Regions from separate parts of the Homo sapiens genome. Here all the other regions are linked to region 2. Evidence: promoter capture Hi-C in 16 types of primary human blood cells and fetal thymus (Javierre and others, 2016). All regions are on one chromosome and are shown on one strand. The core of a region is centred on a gene start or on the middle of the fragment in contact, and the rest is flanking DNA. Distances in the headings are between cores, read along the strand shown. Region 1 overlaps NAGK (N-acetylglucosamine kinase). Region 2 holds the start of PRADC1 (protease associated domain containing 1). Region 3 holds the start of PAIP2B (poly(A) binding protein interacting protein 2B).

Region 1 (2,700 bases), core at 137-2,636, 2.2 Mb before region 2:
CCCCTTGAAATTTCATGTCCTCTTTGAGTTTGATGAGCGGTCTTCAGTGTCTTCTTCTGCCATTCCTAAAAGTAATGATCAATAAAGAAACATATATCCCATCACCACAGATCTCCCTGTGAACTACTGTGACCCCCAGTAATCAACATTTGAAGGTTTAGTTGCTTAAGTATGTATGAAGTCACCCTGCCATCTGGTCAGCATTTCTAGCAAAGGTGTCTTGAAGACCTTGGCAGCTGGATCTTGAAATGCAGTCTTTAGCTATTGTGAGGGAAGCAGAGAGATGTGCCATTTTTCTTAGGAGTGTTTGCTGAGCATTGCCTGTGCCAGCTCCTGTGCTCGTTCTGAGAGGGTAAGTAAGTGATCAGGAGCTTGACCCAGTGGAGCTTGAAGTCTAGTGAGAGGCGGACACAAAGCGTCTGAACACACACTTCATACAGAGGAGACTTTAATAACTTTGGAGGCACTATGAAGGTTTAACTAACGGAGACTTAACTAATTCGTTGGGGTGGGCCACACCTCAGAAAAGGTTTCGAGGACTAGGTGAAGCGTAAGTAGAGTCTTGCAGGATAAGGAGGACATCCCCAAGGGAAGAGGAGTGAGAATTATGTTTCAGTTAAAGAGCACTCAAACACTGAACCACAGAGGCGGGTTTGGGAGTGGTGATTGAGTTTGTCGAAGCTGTCTCCTCCATCATACTGGGCTCTGCCAGTGTGGACAGCACAAGCTTAGCTCTCTCTGTGGGTTTTTCCGAGCAAGATCAAGTGCCCTCTTGTGTTCTGTAGGGGAGGCACACGATCCGAGGTCCTTTTAGTCTCAGAGGATGGGAAGATCCTGGCAGAAGCAGATGGACTGAGCACAAACCACTGGGTAAAAACCACACTGAGGGGATCAGAGGGCTTGGTTCTGATTTTATTCTCTGTAATTCCTGTTGAGGTGGTGGCTGGGACTCACAGAGCAGCCTGTGGGGGCAACATAGCTTCTGTAAGCCTTTGTAACTCCTTCTTCCCTTGATTGGGGCCAGCTGATCGGGACAGACAAGTGTGTGGAGAGGATCAATGAGATGGTGAACAGGGCCAAACGGAAAGCAGGGGTGGATCCTCTGGTACCGCTGCGAAGCTTGGTGAGTCTGGGGCGGAGCCTGGGAATTCAGCCATCTGTGACACTGAGACAGCTAGCAAGTTTGGACTAGATGAGTTTGATGACTGCAGAGGGAAAGACCTCCAAGACTTAGTCCCTGGTGTCAAAACTGTCATAATCTCACCCAGTCTCATGGCTTCAGTTGCCACCTACAAACTACAAATGTGTTGGAAGAGCACAGGGCTTTGGAGAGCTGCTGAGACCTTGGTTTGAATCCCAGCTTTGCTGCTCAGTATCTGCGTAACCCTGTGTAGGTTACTCACCTTCTCTAAGCCTCAGTTTCCTCATTTGGAAAATGTGAATAGTAGCTACCTCAGAGTTGTTGGGAAAGTAAAATGGCATGATACATTGCAAAGTGGTTAGTATAGAGCCTGACCCATAAGCACTCATTAAATGTTAGCTATTATTTACTCCTGGTTCAGATCTTTCTCCCAAGTTGCGGTAGCTCCAGCTACTCCCTGGACATATATGTGAGATGTTCTGCAGACACAGGCAAACCTCGTGTATACCAAACCAAGCTTACCTCTCTCCATCTCCCCTCACCTTGCCCCGCTGCCTGATCTTTCTGTTAAGAGCACTACTGCCCTTCCAAGCTCCAAAGCTGGCATTGTTGAATCCCCTCTTTCTTCTGTCCATCCCCAGTCCAGGTTGTTCTTATAACCACAGCCTTCTGAGGGGTCATTGTGTGGGGAGAAAGGAGGACTGGGGCTGGGTGAACAGGGTATGGCCAGATGGGGAGAACAGGAATCAGGCATCAGGAGGGGGCGGGGGTTGAGAAAAGAGCTGGGGCTGGGGCTCTGCACACTCGCTCACCTCCCGCGTGGCCTAGGGCCTATCTCTGAGCGGTGGGGACCAGGAGGACGCGGGGAGGATCCTGATCGAGGAGCTGAGGGACCGATTTCCCTACCTGAGTGAAAGCTACTTAATCACCACCGATGCCGCCGGCTCCATCGCCACAGCTACACCGGATGGTGAGGAAGTGGAGGGAGGGGTGAGAGTGAGAACTGGTTTTTTTGGGAAAGCCCCTTAGATATAGCTGACAAAACTTGTTCTGCAAATATCCAGAAGGCAGCCACTCTTATATTCCCCTCAACTCTTTAAGTAGTTTAAGTCTCTGCCAGAGCAAGGACCAGGCAGCAGGAGGAAGGGCAAGAAAGGTCTCTTGATGGGAATCCAGGAGTGGGGTCAAACATAACTCCCCTGCAGATGAGGGACCACCTGGGGGCGGTGTAGTGAGGAAGGCAGGCTGGGGAAGCTGTCAGTGCTGAGGAGGAAGTGGGGTGGCCTTGTGATAGTGTAAAGAGTTTTGGTGTCATGGGATTGGTGTTTGAATCCCAGTTCCTGTTTTGCCTGCTATACCATGTTGGCGAAGTTCCAAAACTCTGAGTTTCAGTTTTCTCATCTATAAAATAGAGGAAGTTGTATTCATAAGATGGTTTAGGGTATGAGTGAATATCACTGTGAGAACGGGTCTAGCACAATCCCAGTAAAGCAGGTAGAGTCACTGGAAGACCGGCTGGGCAAGGAGCCACATTCCCTCTAAGAGGTGCAGGCTTGCAT
Region 2 (2,700 bases), core at 11-2,510:
GTACCTGGACTTGAGTCCCTGGTTTCCTTAACCCAGAGAGACTGCGGAATGTTGAAAGATAAAAACTGCTGTCATGGGCGGGCGCGGTGGCTCACGCCTGTAATCCCAGCACTTTGGGAGGCCGAGGCGGGCAGATCACGAGGTCAGGAGATCGAGACCATCCTGGCTAACACGGTGAAACCCCCGTCTCTACTAAAAATACAAAAAAATTAGCCGGGCGTGGTGGTGGGCGCCTGTAGTCCCAGCTACTTGGGAGGCTGAGGCAGGAGAATGGCGTGAACCCGGGAGGCGGAGCTTGCAGTGAGCCGAGATCGGGCCACTGCACTGCAACCTGGGCGACAGAGCAAGACTCCGTCTCAAAAAAAAAAAAAAGAAAAAAAGAAAACTGCTGTCACAAGTCTGTTAGTCTATCAACAAACTACCAAGTCACTACTGTGTACCAAGGATGGCATTAAGGCTTTAGCTGTCTTTGTTTACTGCCCAAATCACAGCCATCAGTTAGAGCTCCCATGGCTTGGCACTGGGCTATACAGTCCTGGGAGTGGGGACTCCCTCTCGGATACAAATACACCCCCAGAAAGCCTTCCTGGACTAGCGTCAAACTCACTCCCTCCTCCCCAACCCTTGCTTGCCTTTGTGTGTGCTTATTTGTGTAAGTTGTGGGTATACGTATGTGCTCACTTATGTGCATAGATGTATACATTTATGTGCTTGTGTAGGTGTAAACGGTTTGTGCGTGTGTGCCCACGTGTAGGAATGTGTGCTCCTGTGTACATGTGAATGCTCACATACATATCTCCAGCCTGTAGTATCCTTCCTTAGCTGTCCCTTCTGGTCGCACCCTAAGTCACCTGGGTCGGCGCTAGTGGGCGGGGAGGGGCGAGTGGGGAGATCTGCTTTGTCGTGGGAAGGTGAGGAGTCAGAGCTTCAGCCTCAGGCTGCGCCCACTTTATGTCCTTGGACCACCACCCACTTATTCCGGCCGCCCGCTCCCAGACCTGTCCTGCTCTGAACTCGCAGGGTCCCCAAGGTGACCCTTGGCCCCCAACCCGAGACGCGCGCAAGCTGGACGGCCAGCCCCGCCCTGCAACGCAGTCCCACCCGTTGCCGCTCACCGTGGGCCGCGACGCACGCGGGGAGCCAGAGCACGAGACAACACCAGCCCGCGGCGCCGGGGACCATCTCCAGGGCCGGGCCCGGCCCGGCGCCGCGTTTCCTCTCGCCGCCCCGCCGCGCGTCGCTCGCAGGACTTCAGCCTGACAGCTGCTCCGGCCTCCCGCCCACATACCCGCTCTCGCCGCGGGCTGGACGACGGGAACGAGGCTCAAGGCTGATTGGCTCTGACGCCTGCTCATGTAGCCACACTTTCCGCCTCTGCGCCTTAGCCTACTTCCTATTGGTCGAGAGAAGTGGAGCCGGGGGCTGATTGGCTTAAACTCTTAACAGCTACAACCGGCCTTCGCCTCAGCCCCGCCCCAGCATACTCTCCGGGTCCTCGCTGGCGGTGGGCGGGCCAGGGAGGACAAGCACTGGAGGTGTGCCCGTAGCCGGACTTGCTTCAGCTGTCGATAGTCGAGGCCGTTAACCCTTGCGGTCTCGGTCCTGTCCACTCCAAGGCCGCCTCGATTGACGACGATTAGCCTTCTCCCAGCTGCGCTTCCCTCCTCCCAGCTGCGCTTCCCTCCTCCCCACGCCTTCACGGGAAGGCACTCGTCTTGCGCCAGGGGGTCTTCCGCCCAGTGCCACCAACGCTTGCGCGCTCACCGTGGATAGGCGCTGGGGCCGCGGCCTGGCGCACGCCATCCACGAGGAGCCTCTGGCCAGTGCAAAGCCAGAAAACGGGCATTGGGGGCAGCTTCCCACGCTCGTCCCGTTGACACTGACTATGTAACTGTGACACTGGACACCTTGACCTCTCAGCCTCCTTTCTGTCATCAGTAAAATGGCCTTAATAGGACCAACGCAATAGGGTTGTGAGGATTAAATGAGATCGCTCACGTAAAGTGCTTTGGCACCAGCCTATCCCACACTTTGCGTCCCACACTTTTGCCTTTATTGCATTCCTTGGTCTGGCGTCCGGGGATGGAGGAGGGTGGAATTAAGTTAGTAGGTGATGCGGGCCGAGCAAAGACCCTCCGTGCTCTAAGAAGCACGACCGAAATGCGGCGACCCCTCTTTAATGAACGCCCCTCACTAGAGAGTCCCCGAAGCCCAGCCTCAGGTCCTTCTAGCCGCACCGAGTCGGTGGTAACGAACCATAGAGTAGCGGAAGTGGTCCGTTCTCTTCCTCTCCCGGCCCAAGCTTCTGGGTATTTCTATTGCGCGAGGCATTGTGGGTTGCTGGGCGGCCCGGTCTCGGAGAAGAGGGGAGAGTGGCGGGCCGCTGAATAAGCTTCCAAAATGATGGTGAGTGGCGTCTCGCGCATCCGTCGCCATCAGCTGCCATCTGGCCGGTGGCCGGCGCCGCTCGGCCTGGGCTTGCTCTGTAGGACCCTCTTTTGCTTGCCGCCTCTGTCCTCGCCCAGATCCCCAGCTTAGGGGCGACCCCAGCCAGCCGCGGCCTGGCTCGGCCCGAGCACGGCGCTGGAGCCGTTGGCGAGGGCTGCGTGGGGCTTTAGAGGAGTCTCTGGGCTGGCCGGTTGGGGACTACAAGTCCCAGGGTGCTTCGGGCCCGCGAACCCACGTCGGGGACCTCTTTTT
Region 3 (2,700 bases), core at 138-2,637, 2.0 Mb before region 2:
TAAAATTGTTGGCATAATTTTACTTAGGCACAGCATAGTTTGTACTGTTATCAAAAAACATATGGCTAGAACCGACATTACTAGAAACCAAACGAATATACTATGAAGGTGAAAAGGGAACAGGGAATGTTGTTTTTGGACAGATTCAATGCTGTTATTATCCCTTCATAGGTTGGGTGTGATCGAATCACACTGTGCTGTACAACTAAGTATGTTCTATATTTTATGACAAAGTAGGGTAGCCAGGCCCTTACACTACAAACTCCCAGAAACCCCAGTTAAGCTGTTTAAAGTATAATCCAATTCAATTTACTGAAAATAATAGTAACAAAATTTAAATCCCTTGCTTCTAGTTAGCCCTTTTCAACTGCATTTTCAGCAATTACCACCAAAAGAACTGCATTAGGACAAAGATTCTAGAGCGGGTATAATGGTCAAATGCCATTTGAAGGCAAAAACAGTCTACCAGGAACAAAACATTAAAGTTCCCAACCTTGCCAAACTCCCTGTTCTGCGTATTCTGCCTCTCTCAGTTCACCTTCCAGCTGCCTGGAAGAGGCAAGTGGAAAATGTTAGTTTTCTGGAGAGATGAGAATGGAATTTAGGGGTTGGTAGGGGGTGATGGGCTCACTCACGGACCGCAAGGCACAAGAGAAGTGGCGAACGTCTCCCAGGCAAATGAGGCATGAAGAATGAGGGCTGGAGTCAAGGGGGAGATGGAGCAAGTATAAAAAGGCAGAGGACGCGCAGGGGCCGCGAATAGGGGAAGGGCACGACGCGCAATCCCTCCCGCTCCAGCCCGGGGAGAGGGGCGGGGGATGCCGCGCGGGTCAATTTGCCTAGCATTGTTGCACCTGGGTAGAAATGGGACTCAGGCCAAGAATTCGGTTCGAGTGTTAGGAGGACGCTGAGGGGAGTCAGGAACTTGGGTGGGAGTCGGGGGGAAACAGAGCACCTGTGCGGGGGGGAAAGGGACGAAAACCCCCTATTGCTCCCGAGGGGCAGGGGCTGACCCCAGCGGACGCCCCTTTTCGCCGATGGCCGCGACGTGGGACCCCGCGCGCTTTCCCTCCCTACAGGAGCTCGGGCAGGCGCGTGCCGCCCTTCACAGCCCCGACGGCGGCAGAAAGGGAGGCGCAGGGCGCCCCCAGAGCCGGGAGAACGGCGTTTCCCTCGAGTCCTTTCCCCAGCAGCCCGGGCACCCGAGCCCACCTGGGCTAACCAGAAGCCCCTCCTTCAGATCGTACTCTGCCACTCCTCCGAGAGCTTAAGCCGTTGCCGTAGAGGTCGCCGTCGCCACAACAGTCTCGGCCTTTAGTACCAAAACGTGAAGCACAGCACCCGAGAAGCGCCACTACCACTTGCCAGGTTATCTCTTACTGCACACTGCCTCCTCGCCCCGCCCCCGAACCCAAGCCATTGGTTGCCGGGCACCGCCCCATTCGTCTATTGGGCCAAAGAAGATGCCGTTCGGTCACCTAGAATGGCATATGTGGTTTTTATTGGTCTAAATGTGAAGCAGTGCCCGCCCACTCCCTCAGAAGTTTCAGCTTCTGATTGGTTTTAATGTCTGTCTTTTCTCTTCCTTCATTTTTTTTTTCCTGTGGTGGAACACCTCCTTGAGGGAGATGCCGGCTCTGATTGGCTGAAAGGACGCTACGCTAGCCTGGGATAGGCATTGGGCCAAGGATGCGCCCGGCCCACTCGTGGGGGAGGAGACCAAGGCGCCGCACTCTGGGTTTGTTTACACAGGCTCTTGCTCCCGCTTCGTCTATTGGCTGAGCTGGAAGCCACTGCCACCGAGTTTTGCCTGTCAGCCTAGCAAGGAGGAGGGTGGGGGTGGGCCTCAGTAGGATTTCCCTCAGCTGTCAATTACCAAAGGAGGAGCTTTGATTCAGGCTGCTTTGGACCTGGTGCTATTCTCTGTAGGGAAAATTAAGGAATTGGGCTCCTTGGGAGGCTGGAAGGAAGCAAAGGGACGCTGGAAGGAAGCAGACGGATGCTTCCACGTTTCTAGAAACAAACCTAACTTCTTGAGTGCTTTAAAAAAATAAAACTTGGCCGGGCGCGGTGGCTCACGCCTGTAATCCCACCACTCTGGGAGGCCGAGACGGGCGGATCACAAGGTCAGGAGTTCTAGACCAGCCTCGCCAGTATGGTGAAACCCCGTCTCTACTAAAAATGCAAAAATTAGCTGGGCGTGGTGGCGGGCTCCTGTAGTCCCAGCTACTCGGGAGGCTGAGGCAGGAGAATCACTTGAACCCGGGAGGCAGAGGTTGCAGTGAGCCAAGATCGCACCACTGCACTCCAATCTGGGCAATAGAGTGAGGTTGCGACTCAAAAAAAAATACATCAATAAATACAAATTAAAATAAAACTTTATTGCCTCCCTTGGATTTAGAATGTCCAATCTGCTTGCAAAGGACTTCGAATTGTATTCCACAGGAAGTAGGGATTTCTTTGTGGAGCTCTTACTTTATACATTTTTCTCTCCCCCCCACCTCTCAAGCTGACTGTATACATGACACAAAGTTAGGGAATTGCAGAATGAATGGAAAAAATATAAAAATGAAAAAGATAAACTCAAATAACAATTATAAATATTAGCTGTATACTTTGATATGGTTTGGCTCTGTGTCCCCACCCAAATCTCATTTTGAATTATAATTCCCAATGTTGGGGGAGGGACTTGGTGGGAGG

Evidence for each region. Contacts are between HindIII fragments. The CHiCAGO score rates a contact against its expected background, and 5 or more counts as called.
Region 1: a contact is called between a fragment that was not itself captured here and the fragment with the promoter of PRADC1 in region 2, in 2 of 17 cell types (naive B cells and fetal thymus). The highest score is 8.2, in naive B cells.
Region 3: the fragment with the promoter of PAIP2B here is called in contact with the fragment with the promoter of PRADC1 in region 2 in 2 of 17 cell types (naive CD8 T cells and neutrophils); the score reaches 9.3 in naive CD8 T cells.

The regions. Positions count from the first base shown.
Region 1 is chr2:71,069,717-71,072,416 of GRCh38, forward strand. It overlaps NAGK (N-acetylglucosamine kinase), which reads left to right. Exons shown (of 10, transcript NM_017567.6): 2 at 786-870; 3 at 1,025-1,123; 4 at 1,970-2,111. Among named protein-coding and RNA genes, the nearest start is that of NAGK, 2.4 kb to the left of the region's middle. RefSeq lists an enhancer at 2,672-2,700. The HindIII fragment of the contact is 539 bases long and covers 1,118-1,656 here.
Region 2 is chr2:73,231,979-73,234,678 of GRCh38, forward strand. It overlaps PRADC1 (protease associated domain containing 1), which reads right to left and starts at 1,261. Exons shown (of 5, transcript NM_032319.3): 1 at 1,116-1,261. The coding sequence starts at 1,182. It overlaps CCT7 (chaperonin containing TCP1 subunit 7), which reads left to right and starts at 2,330. Exons shown (of 12, transcript NM_006429.4): 1 at 2,330-2,406. The coding sequence starts at 2,401. RefSeq lists a silencer at 1,308-1,517 and enhancers at 1,805-2,336, 1,978-2,027, 2,148-2,217. The HindIII fragment of the contact is 3,259 bases long and covers 1-2,300 here.
Region 3 is chr2:71,225,716-71,228,415 of GRCh38, forward strand. PAIP2B (poly(A) binding protein interacting protein 2B) reads right to left here and starts at 1,388. Exons shown (of 4, transcript NM_020459.1): 1 at 1,213-1,388. RefSeq lists enhancers at 818-1,318, 1,534-1,673. The HindIII fragment of the contact is 3,788 bases long and covers 1-2,700 here.